Linked DNA regions of Homo sapiens: all the other regions are linked to region 7. The links are contacts of gene promoters, found by promoter capture Hi-C in blood cells and fetal thymus (Javierre and others, 2016). All regions are on one chromosome and are shown on one strand. Each heading gives the region's core, a stretch centred on a gene start or on the middle of the fragment in contact. The rest is flanking DNA. Distances are from core to core; before and after follow the strand shown.

Region 1 (3,108 bases), core at 576-3,075, 850 kb before region 7:
CATTCCTTAAACTGGCACTTTGAAGTTTATTATAGTCACTTAGCTTTACTGTGATTAGTACACTTCTTATTGCTTTACATATCATGAATCTGAGATGCCTAACAAATACTAATCACCAGCCTGGACCTCTCTCCTCAACAATCAATTCAAATATCCAGCTGACTACTCAACATTTCCACTTGGATGTCTAATAGTGATCTAACTTACCCTGCCCCTATTCAAACTCTTGCTCCAGCTCCCAAACCAACTCCTCTCAAATTCTTCTCATCTCTTTAAATAGCAATCTCATTCTCCTTGCTGCTCAAACAATACTTCTCTTTCAGTCAGATTGCACACTCTTTACAACCTCGTAGCTTACTGGCTATTTTGGACAATCCTCACTGTGACCACCAAGGTCTAAGCCACATGTCTTGCCAGGATTATTTAACAGCCTCCTTACCAGTCTTGCTACTTTAGCTTTCAACTCTTTACAGTTCTCAACACAGCAGCCACAGTAATCTTGTCACAGTCCAATCACATCACTGCTCTACTTGAAAGCCTTTTTGTATCCTCATAAAAACATTTAGAAGCATACAGCAGACACTGTTAACAGTGGCTGCTTCTGGGAAACAGGGGATTGAGGGCCAGGAATGAAGAGACATACCTGATTGTTTTAATTTTCTATCAAGTATACATATTAAATTTTGATAATAATAGTATTATTTCTTTTTTTTTTTTTTTTTGAGATGGGAGTCTCACTCTGTCGCCCAGACTGGAGTGCAGTGGCATGATCTCGGCTCACTGCAACCTCCGCCTCCCAGGTTCAAGTGATTCTTCTGCCTCAGGCTCCTGAGTAGCTGGGATTACAGGCGTGTGCCACCTCGCCAGGCTAATTTTTGTATTTTTAGTAGAGACTGGGTTTCACCATGTTGGTCAGGCTGGTCTCAAACTCCTGACCTCATGATCCACCTGCCGCAGCCTCCCAAAGTGCTGGGATTACAGGCGTGCACCACCATACCCAGCCATTATTATTTCTTTTTAAAATTAACAGGGTAATGAACTAATAGGAAGTCAGCACTAATCCCTAAGCCTGTAATATTGTTAAAAAGCAGGAGGTGACATAGTGTTGAACTATGATGGCTGGAGGTAGGAAGACAATAGAAAACAAGAGTAAGGAAGCAAAATTCAATTCTGAGGAATATAACAATGGAAGGAGAAAGAATGATAGAAAGTTAAAATGTAAAGAAAAGAATCTACTTGCTAGTCTTTGAAAGTTTTTTTATTGATACATAATAGTTATACATAGAATGATTAATTTATTTTATTTATTATTATTATTTTTTAGACAGAGTCTCACTCTGTTGCCCAGGCTGGAGTGCACTGGCACAATCTCAGCTCACTGCAAGTTCCACCTCCCAGGTTCACGCCATTCTCCCACCTCAGCCTCCTGAGTAGCTGGAACTACAGGCGCCCGCCACCACACCTGGCTAATTTTGTTTTTGTATTTTTAGTAAAGACGGGGTTTCACCGTGTTAGCCAGGATGGTCGTGATCTCCTGACCTCGTGATCCGCCAGCCTCGGCCTCCCAAAGTGCTGGGATTACAGGCGTGAGCCACCACGCCTGGCCAGAATGATTACATTTTAAAGAAAATAACTTACATGCTAGTTTTTTTTTTTTTTTTTATTGATCATTCTTGGGTGTTTCTCGCAGAGGGGGATTTGGCAGGGTCATAGGACAATAGTGGAGGGAAGGTCAGTAGATAAACAAGTGAACAAAGGTCTCTGGTTTTCCTAGGCAGAGGACCCTGCGGCCTTCCGCAGTGTTTGTGTCCCTGGGTACTTAAGATTAGGGAGTGGTGATGACTCTTAACGACATGCTAGTTTTTGAAAACTAACAGATCTATGAAGGACTGAATGCTTAAGGAAACGCATCTAGGCATACAGGGAAAAGTGAAAAATGGAGAATGTTAGTGAAAGGAAGAAAAGTGAAATTGAGGCTGTAAAAAAATCATAAAATTGAGGCTGCAAATGATGTAGAATGACTGGCATCCAGAATAGATTTTAGAAGAGCAATCAGTCCTCTAGAATCTGATAAAAGGGATGCATAGATTCAGGAAGACAGTCTGGAAATGTCATTTAGGTATCTAAAGAATTCCCAGCAACAGTCACTCTAAAAGACAAAGGCTAGTACGAAAATCTCAAAAAAACAAACAAACAAACAAACAAAAAAACCCCACAACAACTCAGAGGCTGCAAATTCTCACTGAATAACTGCAATAAGTCTTTATCTCATTCATACCTACCAGGTTCTTGCTTACTCACACAAAGAGAACCTTCTTTACATTTCTTTCTCAATCATCTGTTGCTGTTCTTTTAAGTGCTGACTTTAAACTTGTGAGCAGAAAAATGACACTGGACTTGGATGTTATGGTTGGGGAACAAAGCAGCATCCCAAAATTCAGGGAGCGCCCTTAGAACTCTAAGAGGTTTTGCAGCTCCTGTGGATATACAAGGAAGCAGGCCTGTGAAAAAGAACAAAGTAATGATGATTCTTTGGCTTTGACCTACATGTGAGCAAATGGAAAAACAGTATTTGTACATAGCACCTCAGGCCAGACCCATTATGCCATTCAAAAGCTCTACACATTTCAATGGCCGGGCATGGAAGCTCACGTCTGTAATCTCAGCACCTTGGGAGGCCGAGGCAGGCAGATCACTTGAGATTAGGAGTTCGAGACCCGCCTGGCCAACATGGTGAAACCCTGTCTCTACTAAAAATACAAAAATTAGCCAGGCGTGGTGGCATATGCCTGTAGTCCCAGCTACTCAGGAGGCTGAGGCAAGAGAATCACTTGAAGCCAGGAGGCAGAGGTTGCACTGAACCAAGGTCACGCCACTATACACCAGCCTAAGCGACAGTGGAGACTCCATCTCAAGGAAGGAAAAAAAAAAAAAAGCTCTAAACATTTCAAAAATGAGAAACAGAAGGGACCTTATTTTCAGAATTTAGGTTACACAGAGAAACTATGAGAGACTAAGATGCCAGAGTTATCCACAATCACAACCTGTATAGGTTCCTTCGAGCAGGTGTCACTTGTGACCTTGCTCCTGAGTGAAGTCACATCTTTG
Region 2 (3,254 bases), core at 310-2,809, 880 kb before region 7:
CTTTATAAACATTGTACACTTAAGCAACACTACATGTATTTAAAGTTTTTCTTCCATAATAAATTAACCCTTGCTTGCTGTAACTTTTCTACTTTATAAATGTTCAAATTTTTAAAAGCTTTTTGACTTTTCTGTAATATCGCTTAGCTTAAAACACAAATACATTGCACAGCCCATGTGGGATCCGTATCTCTTGGTAAGGAAATGTTGCAGGTCAGATGTCATTCTTATGTGGCCACATAGAGGTAGAAAGACTGCATATATGATACTGCCTTTCCCAACCACGGGCTCGTATTCTAACATACCGCAACAATGCCCAATATTTATGGGGTCATAGAAAATAGGATTCACTATGGTTGGAGAATTTCCAGAGCCAATTTAAGTTCAGGAATGCTGGCAATGAGAATGATCAGTAGGAATCAGTGTAATGATTTACATAGTTGAAACTATCAACTGGGCCAGGCTGGTGGCTCACGCCTATAATCCCAGCACTTTGTGAGGCTGAGGTGGGCTGATCACCTGAGGTCAGGAGTTTGAGACTAGCCTGGGCAACATGGTGAAACCCCGTCTCTACTAAAAATACAAAAATTAGCTAGGCATGGTGGCACACACCTGTGATACCAGCTACTCGGGAGGCCAAGGCAGGAGAACTGCTTGAACTTGGGAGGCAGAGGTTGCAGCCAGCCAAGATCATGCCACTGCATTCAAGCTTGGGTGACAGAGCAAAGACTCCATCTCAAAAAAAAAGTTAAAATAGAATAAAACATATAGCCATTATTTTTCTGTTTGGGGCAATTTTAAAGTTTTTCTTTTGTCACAAAAACAGGAATGTACTATGCAAAGGCTTGAAATAGGCCATCTTTTTTTTTTTTTTTTTTGAGTTGGAGTTTCGCTCTTGTTGCCCAGGCAGGCTGGAGTGCAATGGCATGATCTCGGCTCACCACAACCTCCATCTCCTGGGTTCAAGCAATTCTCCTGCCTCAGCCTCCCAAGTAGCTGGGATTACAGGCATGCACTACCACGCGTGGCTAATTTTGGGTTTCTAGTAGAGACGGGATTTCTCCATGTTGGTCAGGCTGGTCTCGAACTCCCGATCTCAGGTGATCTGCCTGCCTCGGTCTGTCAAAGTGCTGGGATTACAGGCATGAGCCACTGTGCCTGGAAAATAGGCCATCTTTTTAAACAAAAAGGCAATGATTCACAAAAGTCTATGAATAGAACATGTAACTAGTTGATACAAATCTAATAGGATTTGTTTAAAATCAGTCAAATCTAATACATCTGAAGTGTTCTTGTATAAAGTATCACATGAAGAAAAGAAGAATTTATTAATGTCTTAAAAAAATGGGTTTCTTCATAGACAATATGACAACTTACCATTAAAAGTGTTTCGGGACGGCCGGGTGCAGTGGCTTACGCCTGTAATCCCAGCACTTTGGGAGGCCGAGGCGGGTGGATCACGAGGTCAGGAGATCGAGACCATCCTGGCTAACACAGTGAAACCCCATCTCTACTAAAAATACAAAAAATTAGCCGGGCATGGTGGCGGGTGCCTGTAGTCCCAGCTACTCGGGAGGCTGAGGCAGGAGAATGGCGTGAACCTGGGAGGCAGGGCCTGCAGTGAGCCGAGATCGTGCCACTGCACTCCAGCCCGGGCGACAGAGCAAGACTCCATCTCAAAAAAAAAAAAAAAAAAAAAGTGTTTCAGGAGACATAAGGAAATGCAACATTATTCTTCCTGAACACTTTTAGTTCAAGACTTTCCACTCAATAAAATAGGAAAGGATCTGAAACTGAGAAAATGTATTTGAGTACAAACAGCTTGTGAAACATAATACTTTTTTTTGCATCATCAGAGGGTTTTACTGAACTTATAACCAACTTGCCCACTCAGTATGCAATTCAGATGTGAGTGAGGGGCCGGGCGCAGTGGCTCACTCCTGTAATCACAGCACTTTGGAAGGCAGAGGCGGGCGAGTCACCTGAGGTCAGGAGTTCGAGACCAGTCTGACCAACATGGTGGAACCTAGTCTCTACCAAAAATACAAAAATTAGCTGGGCGTGGTGGTGTACACTTGTAATCCTAGGTACTCCGGAGGCTGAGGCAGGAGAATCGCTTGAACCTGGGAGGCAGAGATTGCAGTGAGTCCAGATCTCGCCATTGCACTCCAGCCTGGGTGACAGAGCAAGACTCCATCTCAAAACAAAACAAAACAAAAAAAACAGATGTGAGAGGACAGAGGTGTCTCACAGGAGCCTGTACTGTCTTCAATCCTATGTGTGCAGGTATCTACCACAGGCAAACAGTTTCTCCACATTTTGTAGTTATATGATCTTGCTACTAGCAAAAAGAGGTAAACAGCCCCTGTAGAATGAAGGGACTACAGTCACGGGACTAGAGTCACAGAATGAAGCTTTCCTCTTAATATTTTTTAATTTGATGTTTGAACTCTTTTTCTTTTTTCCTTGAGACAGTCTTGCTCTTTCGCCCAGGCTAGAGTGCAGTGGCACGATCTTGGCTTACTGCCACCTCCTGTGTTCAAACAATTCTCCTGCCTCAGCCTCCGGAGTAGCTGGGATTACAGGCGCTCGCCACCACACCCAGCTAATTTTTGTATTTTTAGTAGAGACGGGGTTTCACCATGTTGGCCAGGCTGGTCTCAAACTCCTTACCTCAGGTGATCCACCCGCCTCGGGCTCCCAAGTGCTGGGATTACAGGCATGAGCCACTGCGCATGGCCCGATGTTTGAACTCTCAATGCAGCATCCTAGAGAAGGGTGTTCGGGACCTCCTGTGCCCAAGGGACCGATAAAGAAAAAAGCTCCATTTATTATTTGGGATTTGATGCACAGATGAAAAACTTAACACACAATAACGGAAGTCGGTTGTTAGTAAATCACATCCTAGTCTTTCAGCACTTCCATAAGAGACGACATCTTCAGTTGTCTAGTTCTTGTAGTTTTAGCACGGCAACATCAATGATGCCTATGTCCAGAATCAGTTAAAAAGACCATAATTTGTTTCTCTTAGTTCATCTATTTTTCACTGGCTCATGGTCCCAAGTGTATCTGAATGATTACCTTTGGGCATTCTCTGCTATTGCTTATTAGGGTGCTGTCGATTGTCCCCATGTTTTGTGGGCTGGTTGGGAAGGGGAGCTTGGGAAGGATGTGTCACTCTCAGGAGGTTGTAAGTCATTGGGACGCCTCCAGGGATGATTCCTTCCATGGCTGCAGGAAGTCCTCCTGGAGCC
Region 3 (3,138 bases), core at 117-2,616, 530 kb before region 7:
TTTTGCCATATAAAGTAGCATCGTCCTAGTTTCCAGGGATTAGGAAGTAAACATTGGTTGCAGGGCCATCATTCTGCCTACCTTGACCCCCCTTCTATCTTAAGCTTCCTTCTTTCTGAGAGATACTCAGTGAAGGAAATAATGTATACAGTGGTCCATTTCCAAGACAAAATGCCTTGAATTGGCTTAGGTAAGCAAACTACAGAAGAAACAGGATATACTAGGCCCCTGCTTGGATAGATGATGCCTGCTTGTCAGCCTCCCGCTTTCTCCCTTTCCCCCACTTAGTTGCCTTCACCCAAACCAAAGAAGTTTAGTCTAAGATGAAAGTTTGCTAGCCTGCAAAATAGCTCATTTTGTCTGCTTTTATCAGCCTGCCCAGCTGCTTAGGTCATAAGTCAACTATTGAAGAGACCTTGAGCTAACTAGGATTGCAGTGCATTGTGGGCCGCAACCAAATGCAGCAAGACAAGCCTAAAAAAAAAACACACACACACACCGGCTGGGCGCGGTGGCTCACGCCTGTAATCCCAGCAGTTTGGAAGGCCGAGGCGGGCGGATCACAAAGTCAAGAGATCGAGACCATCCTGGCCGACACGGTGAAACCCCATCTCTACTAAAAATAGAAAAGTTAGCTGGGCGTGGTGGCACGCACCTGTAGTCCCAGCTACTCGGGAGGCTGAGGCAGGAGAATCCACTTGAACCTGGGAGGCGGAGGTTGCAGTGAGCCGTGATTGCACCACTGCACTCCAGCCTGGTGACAGAACAAGACTCTGTCTCACAAAAATCAAAAAACAAAACACCTGAAGCCCCTACCCAACAATCAATAGGCAACATCCGGGAAGATTGTGACCCCATAGTTATCAGCCTATGAGGAACCAGGGGAGGAACCTGTGCACTAGGGGATAAATTGCTTGTTGAAACTGTTGGGTGTGCCTATCAGACACTGATCTTGCAAGACCATCATTAAAAGTCTCACTTTTGCTGTTCTCCGGGTCTCTGAGTCCATTCTTTGGGACGGGTAAGTTTGTTTCTCACACTCAAGAAATCATCTTTCACTATCCCACGCTATCTCTCCAAAACTGACTTGAATCCAACCAGAATAAATGTCAATCCAACCTTGTATTTATATTTATCTACTATAAGAAGTCCCAGAATTTCTAGTCAACTGTCTTTTCGGACATTGTATACCATCAAGTCTCATTTGTCCCCTTTTCTCATTCTTCCCAACTTTCAACACTTTTCCTGTATGCCTTCATAATGGAATTCATAATTCATTAACAACCAACTCCTCTTTTATCTTCAACCACTTCCTTGAACACGCCCTAACATTCTGAGTCTAACAGAAACTAGGCTGTATCTGGAGGACTCTGCAGCCCTCTCAACATTTCCCCAGCTACAGCCTCTTACCAGTGGGTCTGAAAATGGAACAGATGGCCGGCCTCCTTGTTGTTCACTACCTTCAGACCTTTCTTCCTCCCTCCACAAACTCTAGTTTTGAATTTCCTGCCATGAGATTGTATATAACTCACCACATCTCACTTTTGTTGACCTCTACCAAACACAGGGTATTTTCCCCCTATATCTGAAATCTTCAGCTCATGGTTTACTCTCTGCAGCGCGATTACCCTTTTCTATTTTTTTTAATTCTTGCATTTTTAACTACACCCACACAGATGAGCCTTGTTTACTTACCCTTGCCTGGACTTTTCCCCCCTCTCGTGGCTCATTTCCAACAACATGTTGATGGGTGGTTGTTCCCCAGCCGTCTTCCCCAGCCCTCTACCCCAACCTGCTGCTCCATTTCTCTGCTCTAATTTACGGAGAAACTCTTGAACTATGTTGTCTACACTGTGTCCCATTCTTCTCCCCTCCTTCTAGGTTGCCCCCACTCCAATCCAGCTACGGGCCAGCACAAAAACTGCTCCCCACACATTCACGAAGGACTATGCCTGTCACTCAACGCAAAGCTCAATTCTTTGTTTTTGGCCCCATAGCGGCTGCTATCACCACCTTTACGAACGTGGTCACGCACAACGCGACGCAGTCATAATCACGTACATACAGTCACATTTAAATAGTCCATTAGGGTCACACACAGCGCCTGTCAACGTCGTGTGCGCGTGCGCGCACACACACACACACACACACATACACACACACACACACAAGCTCCCGTCGCGGCCCCAGCTCCTGCATCAATTTCACTCTCGCATCCACTGCTCCCATCGCGATCGCTCGCCCCCACGCTCCCTCGCCGGCAAAGCCACCAACTCCAAAGACATTAGCACCTCACTCCCCTCAGCCCCGGCCTCGGGCCCTCCGGAGTCATTCGGCTTCTGTGTCTCGGAATCACTCACCCGGCCCTGCGGTCCCTTGATGGTGGAAGGTTCCGCGATCTTTCTATTAACCCTAAAGGGACAGAGGGCTGACAGGAAGTTGCCCGGGGAACGGTGCACTCTGGGAAATGTAGTCCGGAGCCTGGGCCGTCTTTAACTGCCCCGGACACCGCGGTCACCATTAACGGACCCTGCATTTGAGCCCCATCCCCTCGCTGGGCAAAGACCATCGCCCACACACCGCTCACATCTGCTGCCGAGAGCTTCCAGAATTCCAGGCCGCGTTTAGGAAGCTTCAGCGGAGGCATGCAGGCTGCCCTACCTCTGCAAAAGGCTCCCAGCCCTGGGAACAGGACAGTAAGCCCAGGCCATCTTAGGCTGGAAGTAACCTTGGTCCCGACGGCCCTGGGAAATGTAGTCCAGAGCCTGGAACACTGCAGAAATGCCCCGGGGGGATGGTGCGATGGTTTTCAGTAGGAGCTCGCTGCGTGGGCCTCTGACCTATGTGGCATGGCGGGAAAGTCCTACAAGACTGTGCCAAGCGAGTGGCGAGTCTGTCCCGTCTCTGCCCGAGCCTCGGCCCGGCTGGGTGGACACCTCTTGTCCCACAAGTACCAGCCTGGGATAGAACGAAGGGGAAACGATCCATGGGACACAGCTACATGCCCAGCCCTATAGGGGTACCCTGTCTGGGAATCCATGAGAACTCTTCCTAATACCTTATTCCCATCCTCCAATCGCCCTTAAAGTGTTTGGTTTCAATTAATGTTTATAGTAACATTAGTACTGTTTTGTAAAT
Region 4 (3,352 bases), core at 851-3,350, 700 kb before region 7:
ATCCTCTTCTTCGTTCCCTCTGGAAGAAACTCAATCCAAAGAAGGTGTTGCTGGGAGAGAGGGGAGTTAAAAAAAAGACAGGAGATTATTGCCTCTAAGCTCCCAAAATGTTAATTCAGAATGACATTTTTCTTCCCCCTTCATATCTCCTATTCCCAGACCTGATACATACATACATAAATTATTAGTGGGAATTTGGACAAATCCTAGCTTTACTCAAAACCATGAGGAAACTCAGCTACAGCAGGATAGACTCAAGAAAAGCAAGGATCATGCCCTTCAGCAGAAGGGATAGTTAGGCCAGCCCATTGTCCCAATACTATGATGAAATCGAAGCCAGGATCAGGGTGCTGAGAACTGCACTGGGTAGATTTTCACTGAATTAAGAGGAAAAAGAAAAGGTAATGAACATTATGAGAAAAGATTAGGGAAACAGAAAACAGACCCAAAAGACCCAGTGTATGTGTAACAGAAATTTCAAAAATAGAGGCTGAAACAACACAGATGGAAGAGAAAAAATAAATAGAACAAAAATTTGCAGACCAAAATAAATTCTTGAGTCTTTAGTTTGAAGTACAGTGCTGTAAGAATTAAAGAAGAATCATACCTGGAAACATCCTGAAAAATATTCTTAAGTTTGTCTTTGAATACAGACAAAAGGACATAAATATCTTTTAGTAAGAAGTTGCAGAGGCCGGGCGCGGTGGCTCACGCCTGTAATCCCAACACTTTGGGAGGCAGATGCGGGCGGATCACGAGGTCAGGGGCTCAAGACCAGCCTGGCCAACATGGTGAAATCCCGTCTCTACTAAAAATACAAAAATTAGCTGGGTGTGGTGGCGGATGCCTGTAATCCCAGCTACTCGTGAGGCTGAGGCAGGAGAACTGCTTAAAACCCGAAGGCGGAGGTTGCAGTGAGCCGAGATCGCGCCACCGCACTCCAGCCACGGTGAAAGAGAGAAACTTCGTCTCAAAAAAAAAAAAAAAAAAAGGAAGTTGCAGAACAATGTGTATTGTGGCCAAATCTCAGAAAAAAAAAATCAAACACATAGGTACATAAGCATACTACATATGTGGTGTTTTTCTGAGGCTGTAATGATAAATGCGGGGTAGCAATGTGATTTTCGCTTGTGTTGTGTGTGTAAATCTACAGCTAACTCCTCAAGTAGTCAGGAAAGGATGAGAGATGGATGAATGACAGATCTCTGGAGTGGGGCGTCCTGAGCCTTAGATGTGTGCACAGGAGCGGGGTGAGGTGAATGTGCGTGTGTCTGTGTGTGAGAGACCAGAGTTGACTGAGAGGAGTGGAAGCTCTCTGCCTGATCGTGTGAGCCTGAGGATAACGTGAATGTTTTTTTGTTTTTTTTTTTTTGAGACAGTTTCGTTTCACTCTTGTTGCCCAGGTTGGAGTGCAATGGCGCGATCTCGGCTCACAGCAACCTCCGCCTCCCGGGTTCAAGCGATTCTCCTGCCTCAGCCTCCCAAGGAGCTGGAATTACAGACATGCACCACCATACCCGGCTAATTTTGTATTTTTAGTAGAGGTGGGGTTTCTCCACGTTGGCCAGGCTGGTATCGAACTCCCGACATCAGGGCATCCACCCGCTTCGGGCTCCCAAAATGCTGGGATTACAGGGGTGAGCCACCGCTCCCGGCCTGTAAATGTGCTTTTTCTTTCACGTAAATAAATGAGATTTACACAAATAGCCATTCACAATCATGGTCACAGTCACCTACAAACCCCATTTACACAAATGATCAGGCACACAATCACACTGTCACTAAAGCACACCCACGCACCAGGTCGCTGTCCCAACAGTAACACACAGCCCAAAGAGAAACCCTACTTCCTCACGCATTCAAAACACACCCACCTAAGGGCTGATCCCGCACTCAGAGGCCTAAAACTATAGACATTCCCTTCCGCGGCACTGGTGAGCCAGGATTTCTTACCTTCAGCATTCTCAGGGAAGGCTCTGGTCCAAGCTCTGATTCGGATTCCAAGCGAAGCCACACGCCCAGCTCTTCCTTCTCCACCGGCCCGGGACATCCTTACCTGCCTCTACCCGGAGACCATTCCTGCGAGGCTCCTACCGGAAGTAGCTGTGGACAGCAGTGTCCTCTGGGAAATGCAGTCCGAGGGGAGAGCGCCTGGGGTGGAGCGGGTGTGTTCCGCCGGGCTCCGGGATGCACTTGCGCAGTTTCACCCGAGGCTGGAGTGACGCCAACCTGTTAATGTTCGTTTTCGGATTCTGGACTTCGGGTTCCGCTGAGGACGGATTTCGGAATAGGCACAGTGGCTGCCCCGAACCCCTCAAGGCGGCCTCCGCGGGCTGTGGCTGAAGATAATTTTCGGCGGGCGCGGACTAACCCGGCTTCCCTTTGTGGAGTTGTGGTGAGAAAGGTGTTTTGTTGTGCGCGTGTCCGAAGGTGACTCCGGAGGAGAAGGTGGATATGAACTGACGGTGAGGGTGTAGCGCGTGAGATTTGTATGTGAAACGATTTAAAAAAAAATTTTTTTTTTGGCCGGGCGCGGTGGCTCACGCCAAGGCGGGCGGATCACCGAGACCAGCCTGACCAACATGGAGAAACCCCGTCTCTACTAAAAATACAAAATTAGCCGGGCGTGATGGCGCATGCCTGTAATCCCAGCTACTCGGGAGGCTGAGGCAGGAGAATCGCTTGAACCCGGGAGGCAGAGGTTGCGGTGAGCCGAGGTCGCGCCATTGCACTCCAGCCTGGGCGACAGAGCAACTCCTTCTCAAACAAACAAACAAAACTGTATGTCATATATTTGACTCCATTTATTTATTTATTTAGAGACAGAGTCTTCTTGCCCTGTTGCCCGGGCAAGAAAAAACAAACAACAACAACAACAAAAAACTGTACGTCATATATTTCACTCAACTTTTTTTTTTTCTTTTTTTTTTTTTGAGACGGAGTCTCGCTGTCGCCCAGGCTGGAGTGCAGTGGCGCAATCTCGGCTCACTGCAAGCTCCGCCTCCCGGGTTCACGCCATTCTCCTGCCTCAGCCTCCCGAGTAGCTGGGACTACAGGCGCCCGCCACCTCGCCCGGCTAATTTTTTGTATTTTTAGTAGAGACGGGGTTTCATCGTGTTAGCCAGGATGGTCTCGATCTCCTGACCTCGTGATTCGCCCGCCTCGGCCTCCCAAAGTGCTGGATTACAGGCGTGAGCCACCGCGCCCGGCCTCTTTTTGAGACAGGGTCTTCATGCCCTGTTGCCCAGGCTGACTGCGGTGGCGCGATCCTAGCTCACTGCAGTCTCCACCTCCTCAGCTCCTCCCGCATCCACCTCCCAAAGTGCTGGGATAGCAGGCGTGAGCCACCGGG
Region 5 (3,234 bases), core at 305-2,804, 540 kb after region 7:
TGGCTAACATGGTGAAACCCAGTCTCTACTAAAAATACAAAAATTAGCTGGGTGTGATGGCGCCTGCCTGTAATCCCAGCTACTTGGGAGGCTGAGGCAGGAGAGTCACTTGAACCAGGGAGTCAGAGGTTGCAGGGAGCCGAGGTGGCGCCACTGCACTCCAGCCTGGCGACAGAGTGGGACTCCGTCTCCAAAAAAAAAAAAAAAAAAAGTAGAACTGAAGCAATGAAAACATTTTTCCATTAACCTAACTTGGAATAATATTTTGGATATATTTGGGTTAAATAAAATATTAAAATTAATTTCATAGCTGGGTGAGATGGCTCACGCCTATAATCCCAGCACTTTGCGAGGCTGAGGTAGGAACATGTCTTGAGGCCAGGAGTTCAATACCAGCCTGGGCAACATAGCAAGAAAAAAAAAAGTAAATAATAATGATAAATAAAATGAATTTTACCTGTTTATGTCAAAATTAAAATTGCATATGTGGCTTGCATTACACATAAAAACACACACATATATAATTTTTTTTTTTTTTAAAGAGACAGGGTTCTGCTTTGTCGCCCAAGCTGGAGGGCAGTGGTGCAATCATGGTTCACTGCAGTCTCAAACTCCTGGGCTTAAGCGATACTCAGCCTCTTAAATAGCTGGGACTATGGCCACATGCCACCACGCCTAGCTAGTTTTTTAGTTTTAGTAGAGATAGGGTCTTGCTATGTTACCCGGCCAGTCTCCAACTCCTGGCCTTAAGTGATCCTCCTGCCTCGGTGGCTCAAAGTGCAGGGTATATTTCTCTTAGCTAGTATTGCTCTACATTGTTGTAGTCTGGTGGTGGCCTGATATCCCTACTGGACTGAAAACTCCCTGAAGGTAGGAGTCCAGTCTGTCTGGATTTCTCTTGTGTCTCCATAATCACCCAACCTGACATGGAATAGGTGGTTAATCCATTTTTGTTGAATGAGTGGAAAAATGTGCTCTCCCAGGAAGAAACATATGCTTCCCAGCTTCAAGTGTTAGTGAACATCTTCCTAGAAGGCAGGCTGAGGCGGAAAGGGTATTGACTCCGGCTTCTCCACCAGAGGACCTTGCAATTCCAGTCAATTCCCTCGGTAACTCTTATGGAGGAGTGGCAATATACCTTAAAAAAGGAGTGTGTGTTGCGGGGTATTCCGCTGCTTGGTTATGTCACCAGGTGGATTAAATTTGGACAAAATTTCCCAAGGTGTAGGTACTCTACAAACACTAGTTACCCTCAGGAATGTGCGATCAACAAAAGAATGCAAGATAACAAGGCCCCTAGGCAGCCCCTGGGTCTTGTGGCTCCCGTCGAAGGCAGAGCTCTGGAGCCGCCTACGCCGGGGACAGGCGACTACACCTGGGGCCCCTCACCCTCGGGCCTCCTGCACGTGGCAGGGAAGGCAGGGCGTCTCTATCTCAAAGCATTGGCTGCGCCTGTTACCTGCGACAGGATTCCCGACAAGGGACGGGTACGGCGTGTGCACTCAGGAGCTCCTAGAGCTAGGGGCAGCAACTAAGAAGCTACCTGGCGGATGTTGCGAGAGGACTCCGCCCACAGAACGGTTGGCCCCCAACCCCGCAGCCGGCGGACTTCCCGAGGCCAGGGGTCTGAACGCGCGTGCGCATGGGCGCGCGCCCGGCGCGAGAACGCGCGCGCGCTCTCGAAAGAAAAAAAAAAAAAATCCTCTCCGCGGGGTCCCGCGGCAATTTAGGCCGGGGTCTGCCGACGACCGCGCGTGCGCGGGCGTGCATCTACGCCCTCCTCCACCGCCCCCTCCGCTGGGGGTCTAGCGCACTGCTCCGCTTCCCCCGTTTCCCCCGGGCTAGCGTCCTAGGGGTAAGTGACTCGAGCCTGGCAGAGAGTGAGGGAGAGGTTCCGCCGAATGAAGGGAGGAGGTAGACGGGGCCAGGAGAAAGGAGAAACCGCCCCGGCGGGGCGAAGAGCGCGGCTCTCGAGCTGTAGTCTGCAGGAGACACACCTCCCTCCCTCACGCCCCTCGGGGCTGCGGAAGTGCTCTACAGACTGGAGCTGCACGAAGGCGACCAGCGGACTACCGTTCCTAGGAGGCAGCGCGGCGGTGCGCCTACGGCTCCCGGCAGCCCCCGCGCGCCATTCTCTTTTTGAGTTCGCGGCCGGCTAGGGCGAAACTACAGTTCCCAGGAGGACTCGCGCGAAGCGGCTTGGAAGTGGGCAGCCTGGAAGTCACTCGGGCCACCGGAGCTGGCGGCGTCTCCAGCGAGCGGCGCGGAGCTGGACGCCGCGATCGTGGGGCCCGCGAGGCGGGCAGCCGGGGCGTCCAGGTACGTGGCTCCGGGTGCAGGATCGGCCTCGCGCAAGGGTGGCGGGGAATCGGTGGCTGCCCGGACCCCGAGGGTCAGCGCGGGCGGACGGCCGGGTGTGGGTACTGGCCGTGGGGGGCGGCGGCGCCGGGACTCGCGCCCTCCGGACCCAGCCGGACTCGTGCCCGCATGGCTCAACTTTCCAGGCGTGCACCCCGGCGCTGTGGTGAAGAGCTTGGAGGCGGGGAGCGGTGGATTCGCGTCCCGGCTGTGCCACTCGGGAGCCGCGATCTGGGAAAACCGCGCCGAACCTCAATTTCCCCTGCAGTAAAACGGAGTAGGAGAGCATCTTGGCGGAGACTCTGTTGAGATAATATAATAAAACATTTGGCACATAGGAGGCACTTACTACGTATTTGGGTTATTGTTAGCTCTCCGAAAAATGAGGTGAAGATGTTATCGATTGCATAGGGTGAGGATTAGTTGAGCGTGTGCATGTAAAGAGGTGAGTCCTTAGTTAGCACCCAATGCAGGCTAGCTGCTGTTAACCGAGATTATTTTGTTAAGAGCGTTGGTTTGGAAGGCAGAGAGACCCCAGGTTCAAATTTGAACATTTACCAGCTGTGTGACTTTGGGCAACTGGCTTCACCTCTCTGTGCCTTGGTTTCCCTATCTATAAAATGGGGATTTAAATAGCAACCACTTCGTCGAGTTGTTTTCAGGATGCAGTGAGAATACCATGTGTAAAGTGCTTAGCACAGCAGCTGGCATATAACGCTCAGTAAATGGTACCATTTATTCAGCGTTTTCCTAGTGGCCCAGAGACCCTCTGAGGGTGGGGCTCTGGCCGTAGTATTGGTCACCCCCGAGGGCCAGATTCAGAACTGGTCCAGTTGACTTCCCTTCCTACTACCTCAGGTTCCTCATTTACAAAAT
Region 6 (3,168 bases), core at 151-2,650, 990 kb before region 7:
GTGCCACTGCACTCCAGCCTGGGTAACAGACCCAGACTCCATCTCAAAAAATACAAAAAAAAACAAAACAAAACAAACCTACTGGAAAGGGGTAGGAATTGGAATCTACCTTCATCACCCCATCATTCACTGGGAAGGAAGGCCAAAGCACCAGGTCAGTGGACAGGACATTTCAGGGGTTAAAGTCTAACTAGCTGAAGATTAACTGGAACAAGCCCGCATAGTCTGACAAAATCATATCTATTGACTGGCAGAAAGGGAGAAAATTCCACAGGAAGGGTTGGAATAGAATGGACGAGAGAGACGAGAAAAGCTCTTTCGTAAACGGTTGAGTTCCAGCTGAAAGATTCTAAGGAGGATCTAATGACAGCTGCAATCTGGAATGGCTGCTGTTTCCGAGGTGAGATTAGGAGAGGCAGGGATTAATGAGATATTGAATGCAATCATGAGTGTAATCAAGAGGGTATCCCCAGTAATAAAATGAAAACAGCAAAGCAAGTCTAGAACATCACTGGTAAGAAAACTGTAATCTCTCAAAGAGGGAGTCATTATGCCATTTTACAACTACTGCACCACCTGGGGAGAAATCATGTTTTCTATTAATTTTGCAACTGGCTTTATCTGTCTCTTCCTTCCTAGCCTGATTAATGACAGAGCTGCTTCATTGTTCAGTCCGAGCTGATTTTCATTCCACAGAAGAGGAAAGCAAATGCCCCCACGCCCAGAAAAAATAAAAATTACACTTCATGGAACAAAACGGAAACACAAACTCATCTGGATGTTGACTTGTCTATATGCAACAGCAATCATTTCCTCCTCTCCCCGCTGCCTTCCTAAAGAACAGCAGGATTGGGAAAGGAGACGGGAATCTTGAGACCGCGGGCCTTTCCTGGAGCCGGCCTTGGCTGAGCAGGACACACCCCCGCTAGCGCACTTGCTCCCTCCGTCTACTGCGCGCAAAACCCGATGGAAATAACAGGGAGCCTGGAATAAAGCTGACCCTTTCCCGTATCAGAGCGAAAGGCCAGGTACACGAAGACGGGGCTGGGATCTGTCTCCGAGTTCCCCGCAGTTTCCATGGGAGGGAGCTCGGGTAAAGCTGTGCAATCTGCAGTTCTTCAGACTGCGTCTTTTTGTTTGGGGGCCTTCATTCACTCCGGGGTTCCTGTATCTAACTCGGAGCCATTCCGGGCCGCTGGACCTGGGCGGCTCTGAAGCGAGAAGGCAGAGGACGCAACAGGGCACCCGGCGCCCAGTCAGCGCCACAAACTCCACAGCTACTGCCTCCTGGCTCACACTGAGGTCTGCGCCGCCCCCGCGCCACCCCCGCGCCCATTGCCTCGGTGCAAGCGACCAACTCACCTCTCGGAGCCGACACCAGCAGCGAAGCCGGAAAGAACTGCGAGCGGAGGCCTGTGGGAAATGTAGTCCGCCGATGGGAGGGACTGGTTCCAGCCCCAACGGGCTGCGCGGAGTGCGCATGCGCGGGGGCCGGAGCCCCGGGTGCGCTCGGGGCGGGAAGGCCCTCCGCGCTGCGTGGGGCTGAGGCGAGCTCGGGCTTGCGTTTGCTTTTGTCGCTGAGGAAGACTTTTATTTGTTTATTTTCTTGAGACAGGGTCTTACTCTGTCGCCCAGGCTGGAGTGCAGTGGCGTGATTAGAGCTCACTGCAGCCGCGACCTCCCGGGCTCAAGCGACCCTCCCACCCGAGCCTCCAGAGTAGCTGGGACTGCAGGCGCGCGCCACCACGCCCAACTCATTTTTTAAGTTTTTATAGAGACCAGATCTCCCTATGTTACCCAAGCCGGTGTCGAACTCCTGGGCTTAAAAGATCCTCCCGCCTGAGCCTCCCAAAGTGCTGGGACTACAGGCGTGAGCCACCAGGCTCAGCCGCGGAGGATTTAGAAAGAAGTTTTGGCACCAGCAGATGCCTAATATGTGTACTAAACACCTACCAGTTACTCACTGCATACACCCAAGCAAGGTGTGGGCACACATCAGGCATGCAATGAAAATACTCTCAAAGCCCACCAGAACCTGGAGCAGGACGTAAACCTAGAAAGGTCGCTCGTGCTCACTGCCCTCTCCCTTTCTCCCACTCTGTCTCTGTCTCTGTGTGTGTGTGTGTGTGTGTGTGTGTGTGTGTGTGTGTGTGTGTCTCGTATCTCCTGCAGTTGTGAATGTATTGTTCTACTAAAAATACAAAAAATTAGCCGGGCGTGGTCGCGCGCGCCTGTAATCCCAGCTACTCAGGAGGCTGAGGCAGGAAAATCGCTTGAACCCGGGAAGCGGAGGTTGCATTGAGCTGAGATCCGCCATTGCACCCCAGCTTGGGCAACAAGAGCGAAACTCCGTTTCAAAAGAAAAAGACTAACTGGAGAGGTCTGTCTCCAATGAGACTGAATTTGTCCTGTCCTGCGTTCCTTCAGGAAAGAAATGGGATAAGCCCACCAGGGACCACCCTGAGGCATCTTCTGTATCCCAAATTCTTTGATATATTAGTTAATACATGAAAGAATTTGTTCTTTCCTTAAGAATATAAAACTTTAGAAGATATTTGAAAATGCCTCGGCAATCTGGTTTCATTTTGCAAACAATAGGATATGCATGAAATAGGAGATAAATGAAAAATCTGAGCTACTTTATAACTACTAAGAAGGTGGCCAGACGCGGTGGCTGACGCCTATAATCCCATCACTTTCGGGGGGCCGAGGCGGGTGGATCACCTGAGGTCAGGGGTTTGAGACCAGCCTGGCCAACATGGTGAAACCCCGTCTCTACTAAAAATACAAAAAAATTTAGCTGGGCATGGTGACGCACACCTGTAGTCCCAGCTACTCGGGAGGCTGAGGCAGAAGAATCGCTTGAACCAGGGAGACGGAGGTTGCAGTGAGCCAAGATCGTGCAGCTGCACTCCAGCCTGGGCGACAGAGCAAGACGCCGTATCAAAACAAAAACGAAAACAAAACAAAACAAAAAAAACTACTAAGAAGGCCGAAGGCCCAAAGTATTTTTTTAATTCAAAATCACGGTCCTATGTACATGTTTACAATTAAATTTATGTAAGGAAATCAACACTCCATTAAAAAAACAATAAAAAGAATTATTAAAATAGCTCCTCCATATTCTCTGTTTTGACTAAGTTTTTTTTTTTTTGAAACAAAGTCTTG
Region 7 (3,095 bases), core at 240-2,739:
TTTTTCCAGGGGCTCAAGACATTTAGGCATTATATTGAACTTCTCTCTTTCCCTATATTCACAACCAAGCATCAGCAACTTCTGTTAGTTCTACACTCAAACTGTATCCCAATCTGACAATTTCTCATTGCCTCTTCCAGTGATGACCCTAATTCAAACCACCATCATCATAAGACCATTGGTCTCCAAAATAGTTTATACATAAATGAGCCTGTCATTGACATGTAGAGACCTGGGTCAACAGTACAGATGGAGGTCCCCAGCCAGTCCCCTTCTGTTCCCACTGCCATCCTTGTCCCACATCGTAAGAGGTCTTCTATTCCCACATGTGGACACTCCAGCTTGCATATCTAAGCTCTGTCTAGCCTTACCAAATTGCTCTCATTTGGCCACATTTTGTGGATAGGCAGCACATTCCACCTTTGGAAGACAGATCAAGGGAAGGGTCTTTGGACACAGAGGAGATACAGGCTCTGGAAGCAGGCTGGAGTCCATTTGAACAGGAAATCCTGGGGATTTGGATACCCAGAGCATGGTCTGAAAGAAGGTTGTGAGATCTTTGCAGGCATGTTTCTGCCTATGGACTTTCACCAGGAAGGAAACTGCTTGACTAGAGGAGGGCCAAAGTGTGGCCTTTTGTATGTTTAATAATATTAAAATGTTAAATATATTATTTTGACCAATTGAGAAATAATAATAATAATAAAATAGGCCGGGTGCGATGGCTCATGCCTGTAACCCCAGCACTTGGGGAGGCCGAGGCAGGTGGATCACAAGTTCAGGAGATGAAGACCATCCTGGCCAACATGGTGAAACCCCATCCCTACTAAAAATACAAAAATTAGCTGGGCGTGGTGGCAGGTGCCTGTAATCCCAGCTCCTCAGGAGGCTGAGGCAAGAGAATCGCTTGAACCCGGGAGGCGGAGGTTGCAGTGAGCGCCGAGATTGCCTCAATAAAAGATACCACAGACCCCGCCCATGGCAGGAGATGGGGGTGAAGGAACAGTAAGACCAGGAGACAGTCAGATACACATCGGATCAGTGGTATCCTCACAGTAACAGAAACGGTCACCCCCAATGTCAGCCACAGTCTCTTTCATCCACAATCACTTTCACATTCAGCTACCCACAATCACGGGACGTGATTTAAAATACAGAAGCTCCCTGCACTGACAAAATCCGCCGCTCCTTTCGTCGGCAAGCATAAAGGTGTGCAGCAACAGTCACACACGAACCACCACACCCAAGCATTCAACCAGTCAGCCCCGCGCGCAGCCTGGCCGCTTTCCCCAACACAGCAGCTCAAGGTCACTGGAGAGCCTACGACCGCACACAGCCCTCTCCGGTACCTGCCCCCGTGGCGCAGGCGCGCAGTGGAGGGGGCCGCGGGGTTCTCTGGGAGATGTAGTTCAACGATGACGGCCGTGGCGCAAAGCGTTCTGGGGCTCGTGGTTCGCGGGGTCCATGGGGAACGCGGTGTCGCTGGTTCAGATCTCGCAGAGCTCAGAGTCCTGCATGCCTCAGTCCTCGCCTCGCTCCTCCTCGCGGAGGATTCTGGGAGGTGACGTCGCGGGTCTCGGTCGCGGGGCCCGTTTGCAGAGCCCGCGGCGCCGGGAGGTGAGTGGGGCCGGGCCCCGGGCGGGAGCGGGAAGTCAAGGGCGGGCTCCGGGTGGCCCGGCCGCGCCAGGGATGGGAACCCGGCAGGAGTCGCTGGGGAGGCCGTGTGTGTTTCACTGTATTACCAACTATGTGACAGGCTGCGGGTGTGACAGAATGTGATCTTGTGTCACTGTGTGTGTGTGTTTGTGCGCGTGCGCCCGCTTGTGTGTGACTGTAACCATCTGTGTCTGGGGGTGAAACTGTGAATATGTGTGTTTGTGTGTGACTGTCTCTGCAGGTGTAGCTGTGTATGTGTTTATGAGAGACTGGGGTGTGACATTGTGTGTTTGTGTAAATGCATGTGTGTGGTTATGTGACCACCTGTTTCTGCGGATACAATTGCGTTTGAATGTGTGTGACAGCAAGTGTGATTGTGCGACTATGACCATCTGTCTCCGCAGGTATAGTTTTGTATCAGTAATTGTGACAAGATGTGTGACTTCTGTGGTATGCTACTTTGTGTGTGATTGTGTGTGATTGTTTATCTCTGTTGGTGTAGTTGTATGTTACCATCTATCTTTGTGCTTATGTGGCTGTGTATTGTGTGAGATTATGGGTGTGTTTGTGTGACTCTATACATTTGTGATTGGGTGAGAATTTGTGTGTATATATGAGATTGTGGGATTGATGTATGAAGCACAGAAATATTAGAATTACCCAAGTTCACACAGTTAACAAGTGACAGCACCAGAACTCAAACCCAAGCAGTTTAGCTCTAGAGGTCTCGCTTTTTTTTTTTTTTTTCTCTTGAGATGGAGTCTCACTCTATTGCCCAGGCTGGAGTGCAATGATGCGATCTCGGCTCACTGCAACCTCCGCCTCCCAGGTTCAAGTGATTCTCCTGCCTCAGCCTCCCAAGTAGCTGGGATTACAGGCGCGCACCACCACGCCCAGCTAGTTTTTGTATTTTTAGTAGAGACGAGGTTTCACCATGTTTGGCCAGGCTGGTCTCCAACTCCTGACCTCATGATCCGCCCACCAGAGCCTCCCACAGTGCTGGGATTACAGGCGTGAGGCGCTGCGCCCTGCTGCAGTTTTTATGGACAATTTCAAGCTGCACTACACTAAGGAAATAACTGCTAGGGACTGAGTTGCCTAGTGCAAAGTAGTCCAGAATTAGGGGGTGAAATTAGGGGGTGATGTATACTGAATTCTAGGTCAACCACAGTTGTCCCTTTCTTTTCTTTTCTTTTCTTTTCTTTTTTTTTTTTTTTTTTTTTTTGAGACAGAGTCTTGCTCTGTCCTGTAGGCTAGAGTGCAGTGGTGCAATCTCGGCTCACAGCACCCTCTACCTCCTGGGTTCAATCAAGCCTCCCACCTCAGCCTCCCAAGTAGCTGGGACTACAGACACATGCCACCACGCCCAACTAATTCTTGTACTTTTTGAGGAGATGGGGTTTTGCCATGTTGCCCAGGCTGGTCTTGAATTCCTAGTC

Evidence for each region. The method cuts DNA at HindIII sites, captures the fragments that hold promoters and counts their contacts. A CHiCAGO score of 5 or more calls a contact.
Region 1: a contact is called between a fragment that was not itself captured here and the fragment with the promoter of ZNF527 in region 7, in 1 of 17 cell types (monocytes). The highest score is 6.0, in monocytes.
Region 2: a contact is called between a fragment that was not itself captured here and the fragment with the promoter of ZNF527 in region 7, in 1 of 17 cell types (monocytes). The highest score is 5.3, in monocytes.
Region 3: a contact is called between a fragment that was not itself captured here and the fragment with the promoter of ZNF527 in region 7, in 1 of 17 cell types (neutrophils). The highest score is 5.3, in neutrophils.
Region 4: a contact is called between the fragment with the promoter of ZNF461 here and the fragment with the promoter of ZNF527 in region 7, in 10 of 17 cell types (naive CD4 T cells, non-activated CD4 T cells, total B cells and 7 more). The highest score is 7.4, in naive CD4 T cells.
Region 5: a contact is called between the fragment with the promoter of WDR87 here and the fragment with the promoter of ZNF527 in region 7, in 1 of 17 cell types (activated CD4 T cells). The highest score is 5.1, in activated CD4 T cells.
Region 6: a contact is called between the fragment with the promoter of ZFP14 here and the fragment with the promoter of ZNF527 in region 7, in 15 of 17 cell types (naive CD8 T cells, neutrophils, non-activated CD4 T cells and 12 more). The highest score is 21.8, in naive CD8 T cells.

The regions. Positions count from the first base shown.
Region 1 is chr19:36,522,873-36,525,980 of GRCh38, forward strand. ZNF260 (zinc finger protein 260) reads right to left here. Exons shown (of 3, transcript NM_001166037.2): 2 at 2,283-2,501. Among named protein-coding and RNA genes, the nearest start is that of ZNF260, 3.8 kb to the right of the region's middle. The HindIII fragment of the contact is 4,081 bases long and covers 1-3,108 here.
Region 2 is chr19:36,493,816-36,497,069 of GRCh38, forward strand. It overlaps the pseudogene CTBP2P7. Among named protein-coding and RNA genes, the nearest start is that of ZNF566-AS1, 5.8 kb to the left of the region's middle. The HindIII fragment of the contact is 1,705 bases long and covers 708-2,412 here.
Region 3 is chr19:36,835,977-36,839,114 of GRCh38, forward strand. ZNF790 (zinc finger protein 790) reads right to left here and starts at 2,411. Exons shown (of 5, transcript NM_206894.4): 1 at 2,361-2,411. The HindIII fragment of the contact is 2,528 bases long and covers 103-2,630 here.
Region 4 is chr19:36,664,737-36,668,088 of GRCh38, forward strand. It overlaps ZNF461 (zinc finger protein 461), which reads right to left and starts at 2,101. Exons shown (of 6, transcript NM_153257.5): 1 at 1,954-2,101; 2 at 1-50. It also overlaps a transcript of ZNF567 not described here. RefSeq lists an enhancer at 2,278-2,407. The HindIII fragment of the contact is 6,595 bases long and covers 1-3,352 here.
Region 5 is chr19:37,905,040-37,908,273 of GRCh38, forward strand. WDR87 (WD repeat domain 87) reads right to left here and starts at 1,555. Exons shown (of 6, transcript NM_001291088.2): 1 at 1,460-1,555. It overlaps SIPA1L3 (signal induced proliferation associated 1 like 3), which reads left to right and starts at 2,169. Exons shown (of 22, transcript NM_015073.3): 1 at 2,169-2,319. RefSeq lists a silencer at 2,281-2,520 and an enhancer at 2,821-2,880. The HindIII fragment of the contact is 21,411 bases long and covers 1-3,234 here.
Region 6 is chr19:36,377,801-36,380,968 of GRCh38, forward strand. It overlaps ZFP14 (ZFP14 zinc finger protein), which reads right to left and starts at 1,401. Exons shown (of 5, transcript NM_020917.3): 1 at 1,363-1,401. RefSeq lists a silencer at 1,508-1,597. The HindIII fragment of the contact is 12,200 bases long and covers 1-3,168 here.
Region 7 is chr19:37,369,610-37,372,704 of GRCh38, forward strand. It overlaps ZNF527 (zinc finger protein 527), which reads left to right and starts at 1,490. Exons shown (of 5, transcript NM_032453.2): 1 at 1,490-1,617. RefSeq lists enhancers at 860-999, 1,020-1,069, 1,240-1,549 and a silencer at 1,580-1,889. The HindIII fragment of the contact is 7,295 bases long and covers 1-3,095 here.